5 separate regions of the Homo sapiens genome follow, and regions 1, 3, 4 and 5 are each linked to region 2. Evidence: promoter capture Hi-C in 16 types of primary human blood cells and fetal thymus (Javierre and others, 2016). All regions are on one chromosome and are shown on one strand. Each heading gives the region's core, a stretch centred on a gene start or on the middle of the fragment in contact. The rest is flanking DNA. Distances are from core to core; before and after follow the strand shown. Region 1 overlaps KLHL33 (kelch like family member 33). Region 2 holds the start of RNASE9 (ribonuclease A family member 9 (inactive)). Region 3 overlaps TEP1 (telomerase associated protein 1). Region 4 overlaps TEP1 (telomerase associated protein 1). Region 5 overlaps PARP2 (poly(ADP-ribose) polymerase 2).

What was found. Contacts are between HindIII fragments. The CHiCAGO score rates a contact against its expected background, and 5 or more counts as called.
Region 1: a fragment that was not itself captured here is called in contact with the fragment with the promoter of RNASE9 in region 2 in 1 of 17 cell types (total CD4 T cells); the score reaches 6.1 in total CD4 T cells.
Region 3: a fragment that was not itself captured here is called in contact with the fragment with the promoter of RNASE9 in region 2 in 9 of 17 cell types (naive B cells, naive CD4 T cells, activated CD4 T cells and 6 more); the score reaches 10.0 in naive B cells.
Region 4: a contact is called between a fragment that was not itself captured here and the fragment with the promoter of RNASE9 in region 2, in 5 of 17 cell types (naive B cells, naive CD8 T cells, total CD4 T cells and 2 more). The highest score is 8.8, in naive B cells.
Region 5: a contact is called between a fragment that was not itself captured here and the fragment with the promoter of RNASE9 in region 2, in 7 of 17 cell types (total CD4 T cells, naive CD4 T cells, naive B cells and 4 more). The highest score is 7.3, in total CD4 T cells.

The regions. Positions count from the first base shown.
Region 1 is chr14:20,429,710-20,432,409 of GRCh38, reverse strand. It overlaps KLHL33 (kelch like family member 33), which reads left to right. Exons shown (of 5, transcript NM_001365790.2): 3 at 1,691-2,615. Among named protein-coding and RNA genes, the nearest start is that of KLHL33, 5.1 kb to the left of the region's middle. The HindIII fragment of the contact is 2,721 bases long and covers 1-2,624 here.
Region 2 is chr14:20,559,762-20,562,461 of GRCh38, reverse strand. RNASE9 (ribonuclease A family member 9 (inactive)) reads left to right here and starts at 1,415. Exons shown (of 3, transcript NM_001110356.2): 1 at 1,415-1,588. RefSeq lists an enhancer at 2,395-2,700. The HindIII fragment of the contact is 11,449 bases long and covers 1-2,700 here.
Region 3 is chr14:20,396,965-20,399,664 of GRCh38, reverse strand. All of the region lies in intron 9 of TEP1 (telomerase associated protein 1), which reads left to right. Among named protein-coding and RNA genes, the nearest start is that of TEP1, 15 kb to the left of the region's middle. The HindIII fragment of the contact is 1,267 bases long and covers 806-2,072 here.
Region 4 is chr14:20,380,729-20,383,428 of GRCh38, reverse strand. It overlaps TEP1 (telomerase associated protein 1), which reads left to right. Exons shown (of 55, transcript NM_007110.5): 27 at 76-255; 28 at 714-806; 29 at 1,073-1,205; 30 at 1,366-1,516; 31 at 1,743-1,876; 32 at 2,028-2,116; 33 at 2,384-2,498. Among named protein-coding and RNA genes, the nearest start is that of TEP1, 31 kb to the left of the region's middle. The HindIII fragment of the contact is 2,872 bases long and covers 1-2,700 here.
Region 5 is chr14:20,356,524-20,359,223 of GRCh38, reverse strand. PARP2 (poly(ADP-ribose) polymerase 2) reads right to left here. Exons shown (of 16, transcript NM_001042618.2): 13 at 2,535-2,634; 14 at 2,075-2,173; 15 at 1,704-1,828; 16 at 1,320-1,586. The coding sequence ends at 1,427. Among named protein-coding and RNA genes, the nearest start is that of PARP2, 14 kb to the right of the region's middle. The HindIII fragment of the contact is 3,285 bases long and covers 1-2,700 here.

The DNA of each region.
Region 1 (2,700 bases), core at 15-2,514, 130 kb after region 2:
CAGGCATAGTGGCTCACGCCTGTAATCCCAACACTTTGGGAGGCCGAGGCAGGCAGATCACTTGAGGCCAGGAGTTCAAGGTTAGCCTGTCCAACATGGCGAAACCGTCTCTACTAAAAATACAAAAATTAGCCAGGCATGGTAGCGTGCACCTGTAGTCCCAGCTAATCTGGAAGCTGAGGCACGAGAATCACATGAAGCTGGAGGGTGGAGGTTGCAGTGAGCCGAGATTGTACCACTGCACTCCAGGCAGGGTGACAGAGTAAGACCCTATCTCAAAAAAAAAAAAATTGGTTATCCTATAAAATGCTCCATTTTCTTGATTTGTGTGGTTTTTCCCCTCTAAATTGTTCCTTTAGCCTTTCAACTTCCTATAAACTTGACTTTAGATCTAAAGAGTTGAACAGATTCAAGTTAAATATTTTGGCCAGAATAATCCATAAGTGATGCTGAGTATGAGGTCTAATTGTTTAACAGCGTAGGTTAATAGGACAGTTTCATTGTCATGAGGACCATGCAGATAACCAAGGTATTGGTACACAAGCATGCTTATTGCAGCCTGACATCAGTGGCAGTGGATGGAGATGATCTGCCCACACAGCCACTGCATGGAAATGAAAAATAAATCACATGCTTTCTTTGGGACCCAACTCAGTTTCCACATTTTATTTATTTATTTATTTTGAGATGGAGTCTCGCTCTGTCACCCAGGCTGGGTGCAGCGGCGCAGTCTCAGCTCATTGCAACCCTCGCCTCCCAGGTTCAAGCTATTCTCCTGCCTCAGTCTCCAAGTAGCTGGGATTACAGGCGCCTGCCACCATGCCCGGCTAATGTTTGTATTTTTGGTAGAGATGGAGTTTCACCATGTTGGCCAGGCTGGCCTTGAACTCCTGACCTCAAGTGATCCTACCCACCTCAGCCTCCCAAAGTGCTGGGATTACAGGTGTGTGCCACGACACCCAACCAGTTTCCTTATTTTAAAGGGAATAATTGAATTAGATTATTTTGAAGTTCTCAAGTTTCAGATCTCATGATTCTACAAATTACACCAAGAACAGGAGAGGGTTATGCAGAGAAAAGCTGGGACGCACGGAAAACATTAAACACTAAATCTTAGGCAAGAGGAGACAGCAATCCGATGAGGTTGGATTACAGCCATTCCCGAGTGGTGCCACTTTCCCAGCAAAATCTAACAGAATGGCTGACAGTCTTGGCTCTTGATTGTAAAGAATTTTATTTTGTCACGATATAGACAGACCTATATAAGTTGCTTGTTGGTCATTTCCCATTTATTTTGTGCTCCTCTTAGCAAATGCTTTCCTCTCAACCTGATCCATGAAGACTCTTTTTCTGACTCATCTGACCAAAAAGACTAAAGCAATGTTTATCTAAGTGTCTTCAGGCCACTAACATGAGAATCACATAGGGTTACTTGAAGTGTTACAATACAAATTTCTAGGGTCTCCGTCCAGAACTGCTGAATCAGAATCTCTGGGAGTGGACTGCTGAAACCTGCATTTTAACAACTACCCCATGGTATTCTGATGCACACCACAGTTTGGTCTGTAGCAGTGGGTGGCTTGGAGGGCCAAACTTAGAGTTTGGCCAAACTTAGAGTACCAAGTTGGGGTAATGCCTATCGGTCTTGCAATACTTTGAGTCCTCCTCTATTCCTTCTCCCCTCCTGCAGTGCACCGAGCCGCCCTGGCCTGTGGCAGTGAGTTCTTTGGGGCCATGCTCCTGAGCGGGATGAGGGAATCCCAGGGCACAGAGGTATCTCTGCGGACGATCTCCACCCAGGACCTGCGACTCCTCGTCTCTTTTGCTTACTCCGGAGTTGTGCGGGCAAGGTGGCCAGGGCTACTGAGAGCTGCCCAGGCTGCTCTGCAGTACCAGAGCTCTTCCTGCTTGGATTTGTGTCAGAAAGGCTTGGCACGGGGCCTCAGCCCTGCCCGTTGCCTGGCCCTGTTCCCCATGGCGGAAGCCCCTGGGTTGGAGAGGCTCTGGAGCAAAGCCCGTCACTACCTCCTCACCCACCTGCCTGCTGTAGCCTTGTGTCCTGCTTTCCCTTCTTTACCAGCTGCCTGCTTGGCTGAGCTCCTGGATAGTGATGAGCTCCATGTGCAGGAGGAGTTTGAGGCCTTTGTGGCTGCACGGTGTTGGCTGGCTGCCAACCCCGAGACCCAGGAGTCAGAGGCCAAGGCCCTGCTGCGATGTGTCCGCTTTGGCCGCATGTCCACCAGGGAGTTGCGGAGGGTGCGGGCAGCCGGGCTACTTCCACCCCTGACCCCAGATCTGTTGCACCAGCTGATGGTAGAGGCTGATGTTCCAGGCCAAGAGAGACGGAGGGAGCCTGACCGGGCACTGGTAGTGATTGGCGGGGATGGGCTCAGACCAGACATGGCCCTAAGACAACCATCCCGAGCAGTGTGGTGGGCCCGGGCCTTCCGCTGTGGCGTGGGACTGGTACGAACTGTTGAGTGGGGGCAGCTGCCTGCCCTGCCTGCCCCCGGACGCTTCCGGCATGGGGCTGCAAGCCTGGCAGGAAGTGAACTCTATGTGTGTGGGGGACAAGATTTCTACAGTCACTCCAACACCCTGGCTTCAACTCTCAGGTATAAGCTTCTAGGAGTGGGCAGGGTGTGGCAGGCCCTAAGGTGGGCAGGGAGAGAAATTGCTGGCCTAGCCAACCACGGATGC
Region 2 (2,700 bases), core at 166-2,665:
AACCTACTGTTTCACCAGGTTTACTTCCTTTTCCAGTGTCAAATCTAGGAGAGAGCCAATCCTCATATATTCCATATTTCAATTTTCTTGCTATTTCTGATCCCTGAGAAATACCAACTTAGGAAATCAAACAAAACCAGAGGCCACATCTCAGTCTATACCTTCTAGACTCACACTAGCATTACATGAAAAATAGTAAATATCTACCTAAGTCCTTTTAAAATTTTGCAGAATTGTACATTTAAAAAGCTAAATAAGATATGAGTAAAATAAATTTGCAAAAACGTGCGGTCAGTTCTGAAGAGATTTCTGTGAACCCAGACCTGGTTTGACTTCATTTTTGTAAAATCAGATATGAAAATTACTCTATTTATGCTCCGAAGGTTGATTTTCAATTATTTAGAAACACTTGTTTTCTGTATGTCTAGTCTGTGTGCTGCTTTAAGCTCTGACACTCAAGTTTTTACAGTGGCCCTAAGGGAGGAAACGTCTTGAATTGGGCCAAAGGTGTGATATACCAGTGAACTTGTTGATTCTCTTATTTACTCACAAGGATAACATTTTTCCTCCAGATTTTCCCATCCTGATACCATTCTCAGTTCAATCATGGGTGTAAAGGTTTGAGACATAAATATTGCCTCAAAATGTTTGTGAAAATTTAATTTAAAGCTGGTTAAAACCTATATTTTTCTACTGGATTTAACTAAGAGATACCCTGGGATTTATTCACAAAGGTTAGTCTAATTCTGAGGATTGAAGATTTATAATCTGTCTTTTCTCAACCACTCAAACTAAGGCACAGATTTTCCTGATGCTGATGAAAAATGAGTTTACTGATATAAACATGTGGGAGTCTGGAAAATTATCACTTAATATTTAAGAACATGGCCAATCCAGATCTTAAAACTTGACTTCTTCAATGATATTTTGTTATTTTTTTGAATTTGTAAAATTGACAATTTTAAAGATTAGAATAAAAAATTAACCAGAAATATATCATTCAGAAATAACAACTTATTATTATTACATTTTTTCTTTTCTTTCCCTTGTAATCTATATTTCTGTTAATTGGGAACATGCTGTAGATGGAGTGTTTTGATTTTCCCCCAGCTAAACAGCAAAGCACGTTTATTACTTTCGGATTTGGTCTCCATTCCTTTTTTGTGTAATAGGGAACAGCCCTTCTATCGACAATTGGAATTCTGTTGGGTTTTAATTGTGTAGTTTTGCCTTTACTTCTCAAAGAGGACATGTGTTTCAGGTAGCCAATCAGAGTGCCCCACATCCCTGGATTTATTCATGTGACAGAAGCACAGCCAATCAGAAAAGTTATTTTCCATGTTGAGTGAAGGTGGCAGAGAATGGCACTTCCTACTGTGATCCTAAATATAAGGCTACAAAGGGGGCAGTGATTGACTCTGTCATTACATGGAGAGGCCCCTACATGAGAATAAAGTTAGTGTACAAAGGAGAGTAGAGTGGGAGAGAGTAAAAACAAGAGTCTAGTCAAGAATTTGATTTCTTTCTCCTGCTCTACCTCTTGGACTTCCAACTTCTGTGAGTCAACATAGTGCCTCTTGCATTTAAGGTAATTTGTTTGGAATTTTTCTCACTGTCAACCAGAGAGTCCTAGTACTATAATATTATATCACAAAATATTTCATATCTCTAAAGTTTTTAATGCTTTTTTTCTATTCTCCTTGTTTCTCAGATGATCTAAAACTTTATTGATTAATATATTTGTAAATTCTGAAAAATAGCCCATTCTAAGAATATACAATTCTATGAATATAAAATACTGTCTCAATAAATATTAGCTCTTATAATAATAATTATTATTGCAATGTGTATTGTCATTTCTATAAACACATCAGACTCATTTTAACCTTTCCCTTTCCCACATTTTTGGATATTTATATTTTAAAATTTCAATTTTTTTCCCTTTTAAGTAAAATTTGCTGTTTGTCTTTCAATATAAATTATTGCAACTTAGAATTCTAGCTATTGAAATGCTAGAGAAAAGTATCAGCTATTCTTTTTATTGTATTTCTCAAATTTTTCAAAAAAATTATAACAATTTCTTTCTGCAGAAACATCTCATCACACTCTTATCAGCATTGAGTTTGTAAGTTATTATAATTATTGCCAATTTAAAAGATTTAATTTAGTTTTTCCTTCTGTGATTGAGGCTATATAATTATTATATGATCATGATTTATTGATGCTTTATTATATAAGGTGTTCAAACAAATCTTTTTAAAAATTAATTTAATTTAAATCAGTTTTAAATTTAAATTTTAATCTTAAACTTAAATTTAAAAATTTAAAATACCACTTAATAATCCTTCTGAAACATATTGGTTCACCTACAAGCCCATAACTCATTCCAATCTTTTCTTTTTACTATAAACTTCTTATGTGTGTGGTTAAATATAGAGTTCTGATCTGGGGCTCAGAACTTGCATTTTAGGAGGAGAGACTAGATAGACAACCCCTCCAAGGCCTTTCTCAGTCTGCAATTCTAAGTTACAATAAACCTTCCAAGCAAGTTTAAAAGCAGGGAAGAAAAGCAGGGACTTGAACAGGTATTTGTGCACCCATGTTCATAGCAACATGATTCACAATAGCCAAAAGGAGGAAGCAATTCATCCCATTCTTCTTCCAAGAACATTTGCTGAAAGGGCCAAACGTTTTCCCTAC
Region 3 (2,700 bases), core at 190-2,689, 160 kb after region 2:
TATGTACTTTTTTTTTTTTTTTTTTTTTTTTTAAGAAACAGGGCCTCACTTTGTTGCCAAGGCTGGTCTCCAATTGCTGGGATTACAGATGTAAGCCACTGTGCCCAGCCAAAAATAAATATAAATAAATAAAAGGAAATATAAAAAAAGATATAAGTATAAAATATAAGATAAAATGTAATTGGATATACAGAACCCTTTTTGAAGACCACAGATCTCATTAATAACTCATTAACATTTTTTTGGAATGAAATTAGTGAATTTTGCAATCTTAAGGATAAATGTCCAGTTTATTTTCTAATATCACCAGTATGATATTGGACTTAATTTCTTACCGAAAATGATCTAGAAAACCTTTTATACATAGTAACAGTGGAAAAAACTTGAGTCGACAATGGATGCAATAGTTCATTTATAGTACATATACAACCTAATTGTTCCATACAGTTTGTGAATCAGAATTATGACTGGAGGCCAGGCACCATGGCTCACGCCTGTAATCCCAGCACTTTGGGAGGCTGGGGCGGGCAAATCACTTGAGCTCAGGAGTTTGAGACCAGCCTGAGCAACATGGTGAAACCCCGTCTCTAACCAAAAATAGAAAAATTAGCTGGGCATGGTGGTTGATGTCTGTGGTCCCAGCTGCTTGGGAGGTTGAGGCAGGAGGATTGCTTGAGCCTGGAAAGTGGAGGTTGCAGCGAGCCAAGATTGTGCCACTGAGTGACAGAGACAGACTCCATCTCAAAAATAAAAAAAAAAAGAATGATGACTGGAGAATCCCAAGACTTCCAGAGGGCTGAAAGCTTCCAGCTATAATTCAAATAAGACTTACATCCCCTTTACAAAGGGAGCAGCATTTACCTGATGAAGCTGCTGATGGTGTGGGCTGGTGCACAAGGCATGGTGACGGACTGACCGGCCTGGCCTCTAAAGTGGTTTGAATGCACCTCTGTCCAGGAAAAGAAAATCACACCTCCTATTTATGTTTACTTTTATCTAAAAGAAAAGAATTTTCCCAGTACTTACCATGCAGATTGAACCCACATAGTCACTGAATCCATATGATACAGTGTTATGTGTTACGTGTAATAGTTGAGGTTTTCTGAGCATCCACAATCTGAGGGCATTAATGTCACCCCTTCACTCTTTTTTTTTTTTAATTTTGGTTTCTATATAATTTGACTTATAGCAATTTATCTTTCAATTGTAGATGGATTTGGAATTATATTATTCAGTATTAACCAAATTAACTGTCTAAAATTGATATAAACCTTTTTTTTTTTTTTTTGGGCGGAGTCTCACTTTGATGCCCAGGCTGGAGTGCAATGGCGCGACCTCGGCTCACTTCAACCTCCGCCTCCCAGGTTCAAGTGATTCTCCTGCTTCAGCCTCCTGATTAGCTGAGATTACAGGCGACCACCACCACGCCCGGCTAATTTTTGTATTTTTAGTAGAGATGGGGTTTCACCGTGTTAGCGAGGATGGTCTTGATCTCCTGACCTCATGATCCGCCTGAGTCGGCCTTCCAAAGTGCTGGGATTACAGGCGTGAGCCACTGCACCCGGCCTAAAATTGATATAAACCTTAAAAATATTATTATTAAGAAACTATGGGCTGGGCATGGTGGCTCACGCCTGTAATCCCAGCAATTTGGGAGGCCGAGGCAGGCAGATCACTGTAGATCGGGAGTTTGAGACCAGCCTGGCCAACATGGTGAAACCCCGTCTCTACTAAAAATACAAAAATTAGCCAGGCATGGTGGTGAGCACTTGTAATCCCAGCTACTCGGAGGCTGAGGCAGGAGAATTGCTTGAATCCAGGAATCAGAGGTTGCAGTGAGCTGAGATTGCACCACCACACTCTAGCCTGGGTGACAGAGTGAGACTCCGTCTCAAAAAAAAAAGAAAAGAAACTATGGCTTGAAGATAATATTAATAACACAGGTACAAGGGAACAATAAGGAAGTGACAGAGGTCAGTGGTGAAATTCTATCTCCAGTGCAAATCTTTTTCACCTATATTTAAGCAAAAAAAGTAATGACTAATCAAATAGAAGAAATTGGGTGAGAAGCTTACAAATTATGAAGACTATTTCAAATATGGATTTACATACATTCGTCATTATAAATGGTGAACTTTTTTTTAATTTTTTTTTTGGAGACAGAGTCTTGCTTTGTCACCCAGGCTGCAGTGCAGTGGCGTGATCTCGGTTCACTGCAACCTTCGCATTTTGGTTTCAAGCGATTCTCCTGACTCAGCCTTTCGAGTGGCTGGGATTAGAGGCACCAGACACCACGCCTGGCTAATTTTTGTATTTTTGTAGAGACGGGGTTTCATAAATGGTGAACCTTCTTTTAAATGGATATTGTGCCTTGAAATATTAACTAATGAATGTGCTACATTATGTTAGTATATACTTCATAAATCAACTTACACTACGAAATTTCTCTTTTGGCCATCTAAAAAGTTTAGAAACCTTTGCTCTAGACTAGATAATACATTTTGCCAGTTGAACCCAATCTTAGGGCTAGAGCCAACAGATTAAGTGGTAACATAACAGCCATCCCATAAACAGTGTTGCATAAATTTTGTTCCAAACTTTGGGCCAACCCTGTTTTTAATCTTTCCAAGCCTTTAAAACATTTTGAGTAGGGTAGATTGTATGTGAATTCCTCACTTCCTCTATCTTGGACTTTCCACA
Region 4 (2,700 bases), core at 121-2,620, 180 kb after region 2:
ACGGAGGAGAGAGGCCTCTCCAATGTGGTTCTCCTTTTCTTTCTACCTTCCTGCCCCTTTGCCCAAATATCACAGTGTGTACACCTGGTGCTGAGTGTGTCTAGTGATGCAGGCCTAGGGGAGACCCTTGAGCAGAGCCAGGGTGCCCACGTGCTGGCCTTGGGGCCTCTGGAGGCCTCTGCTCGGGCCCGGCTGGTGAGAGAGGAGCTGGCCCTGTACGGGAAGCGGCTGGAGGAGTCACCATTTAACAACCAGGTTGGGTTCTAGGCCGGGGCCGGTGGGTGTGTGGGGTGAATCTGGGAGCTATGAGGACCTGGGGTGCCGAGGCCGCTAGCTGCCTTGCACAGACCTGCTCCTTTGTTTTCTCAGAAATTCTGTCCATGGGAAGTTGTTAATAAGAAAATTGTGATTCCTGATCATGTCACCCAGCCCTCTTCCCCCGGTGAATGGCCTTTCCAGGGCCTCTCGGGGTGAGGGGATGAGTCAAGTGGTTTTTGGTGGGGTAGGCCGAGCCACAGGGGTTTTCTGGCAGGGCTGGCTGGGCAGAGCAGCGTAGGAGAGGGATGGTTTGTGTCCTGGGATGATGCCATGGACCTGGCGTCTGCTGGGGACTCTCAGAGGAGGAGCTGCCTGGCAGAGGGGCTGGTGCTGGGGCAGAGGGCTGGCTGCGGGCAGCCCTCCTGGACCCCACCCTGAGTCCTGAGTCTTGCCAGATGCGACTGCTGCTGGTGAAGCGGGAATCAGGCCGGCCGCTCTACCTGCGCTTGGTCACCGATCACCTGAGGCTCTTCACGCTGTATGAGCAGGTCAGTTCTCATCACCTTCCAAGTCCTAATCACTACTTCCCATTCTCTCTTCAGCTGCTTTGTCTCATCCCTATCCCACGTCCTTTGCTGTCTTGTGATCACCCACTCCCTATCCTCGCCTCATACCTCGCCTCACTTCCCTCCTACTGTTGTTCTTTACTTTTTCATTCCTCCACACTGTCCTCCTGCTGCCCCTTCCCTATCCCACAAGCCAAGCTGCTTCTCCTCCCACTGCACTGAACAAGGCTGTCCTCCCGCCATCCTAGGTGTCTGAGAGACTCCGGACCCTGCCTGCCACTGTCCCCCTGCTGCTGCAGCACATCCTGAGCACACTGGAGAAGGAGCACGGGCCTGATGTCCTTCCCCAGGCCTTGACTGCCCTAGAAGTCACACGGAGTGGTCAGTGCTTGGGGTGGGTTGGTTGGGAGGCTGAGGGCCAGGGTTCGGATTACATTGGTTCCCTTGGGGTCTCAGCAGGCAGTTCAAGGAGAGACTGGGTGTGGTGGGGGCGGGGACACCGTATGGTTAGATGAGGGCCTCAGAGAGCTTGAGTTTTCAGGTTTGACTGTGGACCAGCTGCACGGAGTGCTGAGTGTGTGGCGGACACTACCGAAGGGGACTAAGAGCTGGGAAGAAGCAGTGGCTGCTGGTAACAGTGGAGACCCCTACCCCATGGGCCCGTTTGCCTGCCTCGTCCAGAGTCTGCGCAGGTACAGGTGCCCCAGCAGAGCTCCCGCTGACCTCTCTGTGCCTTCCCTTCTTTGAGCCGGGGCCCTCTGTATAGCTTCAACAACTGGCTCCCAGACCATGAATGAGCTACTGCTCCAGCTGCTCCAGTTTCCGCTATTTGAGGGGGGAATAGGAGCCCACTGTGTGCCAGGAAGCTCACTGACAGGCCTCTTCCTTCTTCTCTCTCCCTTCCTCACACGAGGACAGTTTGCTAGGGGAGGGCCCTCTGGAGCGCCCTGGTGCCCGGCTGTGCCTCCCTGATGGGCCCCTGAGAACAGCAGCTAAACGTTGCTATGGGAAGAGGCCAGGGCTAGAGGACACGGCACACATCCTCATTGCAGGTGATTGCAGCCCAAGTCAGCCTGGGCACTGAGTGTGGGGCTTGGGCCTGGAGGCCAGGACCACCCACTGTGCTCCCATCTGCTGGCCAGCTCACCTACTGCCCTTGGGAATGATGCAGGGCTGAGCCTTTCTCAATATCTGTTCATGCAGCTCAGCTCTGGAAGACATGTGACGCTGATGCCTCAGGCACCTTCCGAAGTTGCCCTCCTGAGGCTCTGGGAGACCTGCCTTACCACCTGGTTAGTTCCTAGACCCCATAGACACCTTTCCCAAAGTGAGTGCTTTGGTTGCTCTGAGACCCCTCTCCCCGTTACCATCTCCACCATCACCGCCGCCATTACCCCTCCCAAACTCCCTTGACCTCTTTCCTTTCAGTTTTCCTGCCCTTCTTCTTCAAGTCCTTTGTCCCAGCTCAGATCCTATCTCTGTATCCAGGTTCTGAGACTAAACTGTCCCTTCTCACCAGCCCCTTCATATCCCTAATGAATTCAATCTGACCTTCTCAGCTCCAGAGCGGGAACCGTGGACTTCTTTCGAAGTTCCTTACCAACCTCCATGTGGTGGCTGCACACTTGGAATTGGGTCTGGTCTCTCGGCTCTTGGAGGCCCATGCCCTCTATGGTGAGATGAGTCACTGGCTGGGTTCTTCTCTGAGATATGGGACTCCTGGGTGTGCTTATGGGGGCCCTGCTCAGGGTTGGGGCAGGGGTGTGGGTGTCAGGGAAAAAAGATTCAAATTTCCATTTCGAGTTGAAAATGCCAAGAGGGTGAGCACGTGACTCTCAGGAGACCTTTCACCTTGATCTCTTGGACCAGAGATTCT
Region 5 (2,700 bases), core at 161-2,660, 200 kb after region 2:
ATTTATAATGTTGCTGGATTAGGCTTGGTAGTATTTTGTTGATTTTTGCAATTATATTGTTAAGGGATATTGGTCTATAATTTTATTTTCTTGTGATATCTTCATCTGGTTTTGGTTTCATTCTGCTTTGTAGAATTAGTTGCAAAGTATTTTCCTCTCTTCTATTCTTTGGAAAAGTATGCAGTCTACTTCAGTTTTAATAGCAGGTTACTTCAGTGAGTAGATATATTTGACTAGTTCCTTATCTATGATCTTTTTGTGTACACCAATGCCTCAGTGACATCTATGCAAACATATATATCTGTAAGTTTTAGGTCAACAGGGCATGAACATTTCAAATTTTGATAGATATTGGAAACCTGGTTTCTAAAAAGTTACAGGAAAAATTTAAACAAACTTCTCTGTTACTTAAGGAAGTGTGTTGTTTATCTGTGTTGTGTGTTTAAATACAATCAGGAAGTCTTTGGATCTGTATTAGTCTGTTTTCATACTGCTATAAGGAACTGCCCGAGACTGGGTAATTTATAAAGGAAAGAGGTTTGACTCACAGTTCACCATGGCTGAGGAGGCCTCAGGAAATTTACAATCATAGAGGAAGGTGAAGGGGAAGCCCTTCTTCACAGGGTGGCAGGAAGGAGAAGTGCCAAGCGAAGTAGGAAGAGCCCCTTATAAAACCATCAGATCTCGTGAGAACTCACTCACTATCACAAGAACAGCATGGGGGAAACTGCCCCCATGATTCAGTTACCTCCACCTGGTCTCTCCCTTAAAATGTGGGGATTCTGGGGATTACAGTTCAAGATGAGATTTGGATGGGGACACAAAGCCTAACCATATCAGGATCTGACCTGGACTTTAGTACTTCTTAGTTGGAGCAGGTTATGTAAAAACTCATTCCACTTTTTTCCTTTCCTCCTCAAGATGTATTCAGGCTTAGTGACAGTCCTCCAAGGGCTTCCCAAATTTTTGGACATGTGATGAGTCCTAGGATGTTGAGTAGTGGGAGACCTAGGCTGCAGTGGATAAATTTGAAAAAGGCAAGTGAATACATATGCATGGGAAAGAAAAACACGACTTAGCCTTTGTTGCCTCTACCCTTCCTGTGATAATACTCAACAAATTCCAGTTTGCAGAAAAATTGAATTAAACAGGTAAAAGCATTAGCGCCCCCATTAGTGTCCCTCAATGCACAGATGCCACTAAGAACAGGATACTGAATAACCCTCAGAGCAATGAGTAATTTCTGTCCTGGAAATGGAGATCTACTAATGTCAGAAGAAATATGTTCTTGGAGAAATAAAGCCCGAAGAAGCCAGTGGTAGACCTGTACAGTTTTTATTACATAAAATATCACAAAATTCACAAGTACAACACTGCTTATTTTCTTGCTTGAAGATCAGATCTCTGGTTTATTTAATATCAACATTCACCACAGCTGAAGGAAATTAAACTGAACCTTTAAAAGGTACCGCATACGGACCTGGTTGGGGTTATATACAATATATTCATTGTAGTTGAGGGTATAACCATCTGGATTCAGAATTCCTGTGTCACTTGCTGGTCCTAATGGCACTGTACTCCCATTCCTGCCAAATGGAAAAAAAGTGTGTCAACATCAGTCTCTGGTTCAGAAGCTGCAATAGAGAACGTAGTCTTATCTGGCCAAAAGGAGTCTTCTAGTCCTCCTGGTTCTGAGTACTTACAGGGTGACGAAGTGGGCAGAACTGGGAGCCATCTTGCCCAGCCCCTTGGTGCTATGTTTACCTTGAAGCAATCCTTCGGCCTTAGGATTGGCCTCTAGTAGTTCATTACACTGACCTAGAGCTACCTGCAAAGCAAAAAACCTTTGAATTCCCATATCCTACTAAGAATTAGATGGCTCCAAAGCCAAACAGAAAATCCCATCAGTACTTTTTTCCCCTACTCCAGCAGAGGAATCCAATGTACTAGAAATTGTACTTGGTCCTCTCTCAAGCTATCCCAGGTAAACCTCTTGGTTCTGGGGTCAAACTTTTCTCATCGGAAAAAAACTGGAATTAATAAACTAGAGATCACAGACATACTCCTGTCTCACCTCTGATAAGAGCAGCAGTCCTGTATTCTTTAGGCGAGAGGCAAAGCAGTAATTGGCACTCTTGGAAGACATGTCAGCAAAGTAGATTCCTTTCCCAAACTGAAATATATACATGAATACCAAGGTCAGCTTCTAACCCACTGTGTTAGAGAGAAGGTGCATACCACTGACCCTGTTTTTCCATTCCCTTAAACACAATATAGACCCTTCTCCATTTCCCCTCACAATTCTGTTCTAGAGAGGGTAGAAGCCCCTGTGAATTTCCGCCTTCTGAGGGAAAGGTGAGGTATCTTTAGGAATTTAAAGAAAGAGGGACACAGTAAGAGATGACAAGGTTATCAGTGAGCTGGCTTAACTCTTGGGGAGGGGAACCATCTAATCCTAATCTAGGAAAAAAAGCACTGAGAACATTACTGTATCCCTTTCCCCTGTGCTCCTCCCAGAGTTCAATTTCACTCACCATGTAACCTGTGATGGGAGCTTCAGGTGGGGCAATTCGAAGCCCATGGCTCAAGATTCCCACCCAGTTACTCATCCTGGAACCATGCCATAGAAGCATCCTAAGGAAAAGCCAATATTATTGTACTCTGTTGTTCTGCACAGATAGGCCATAAGCATAAAAAAGC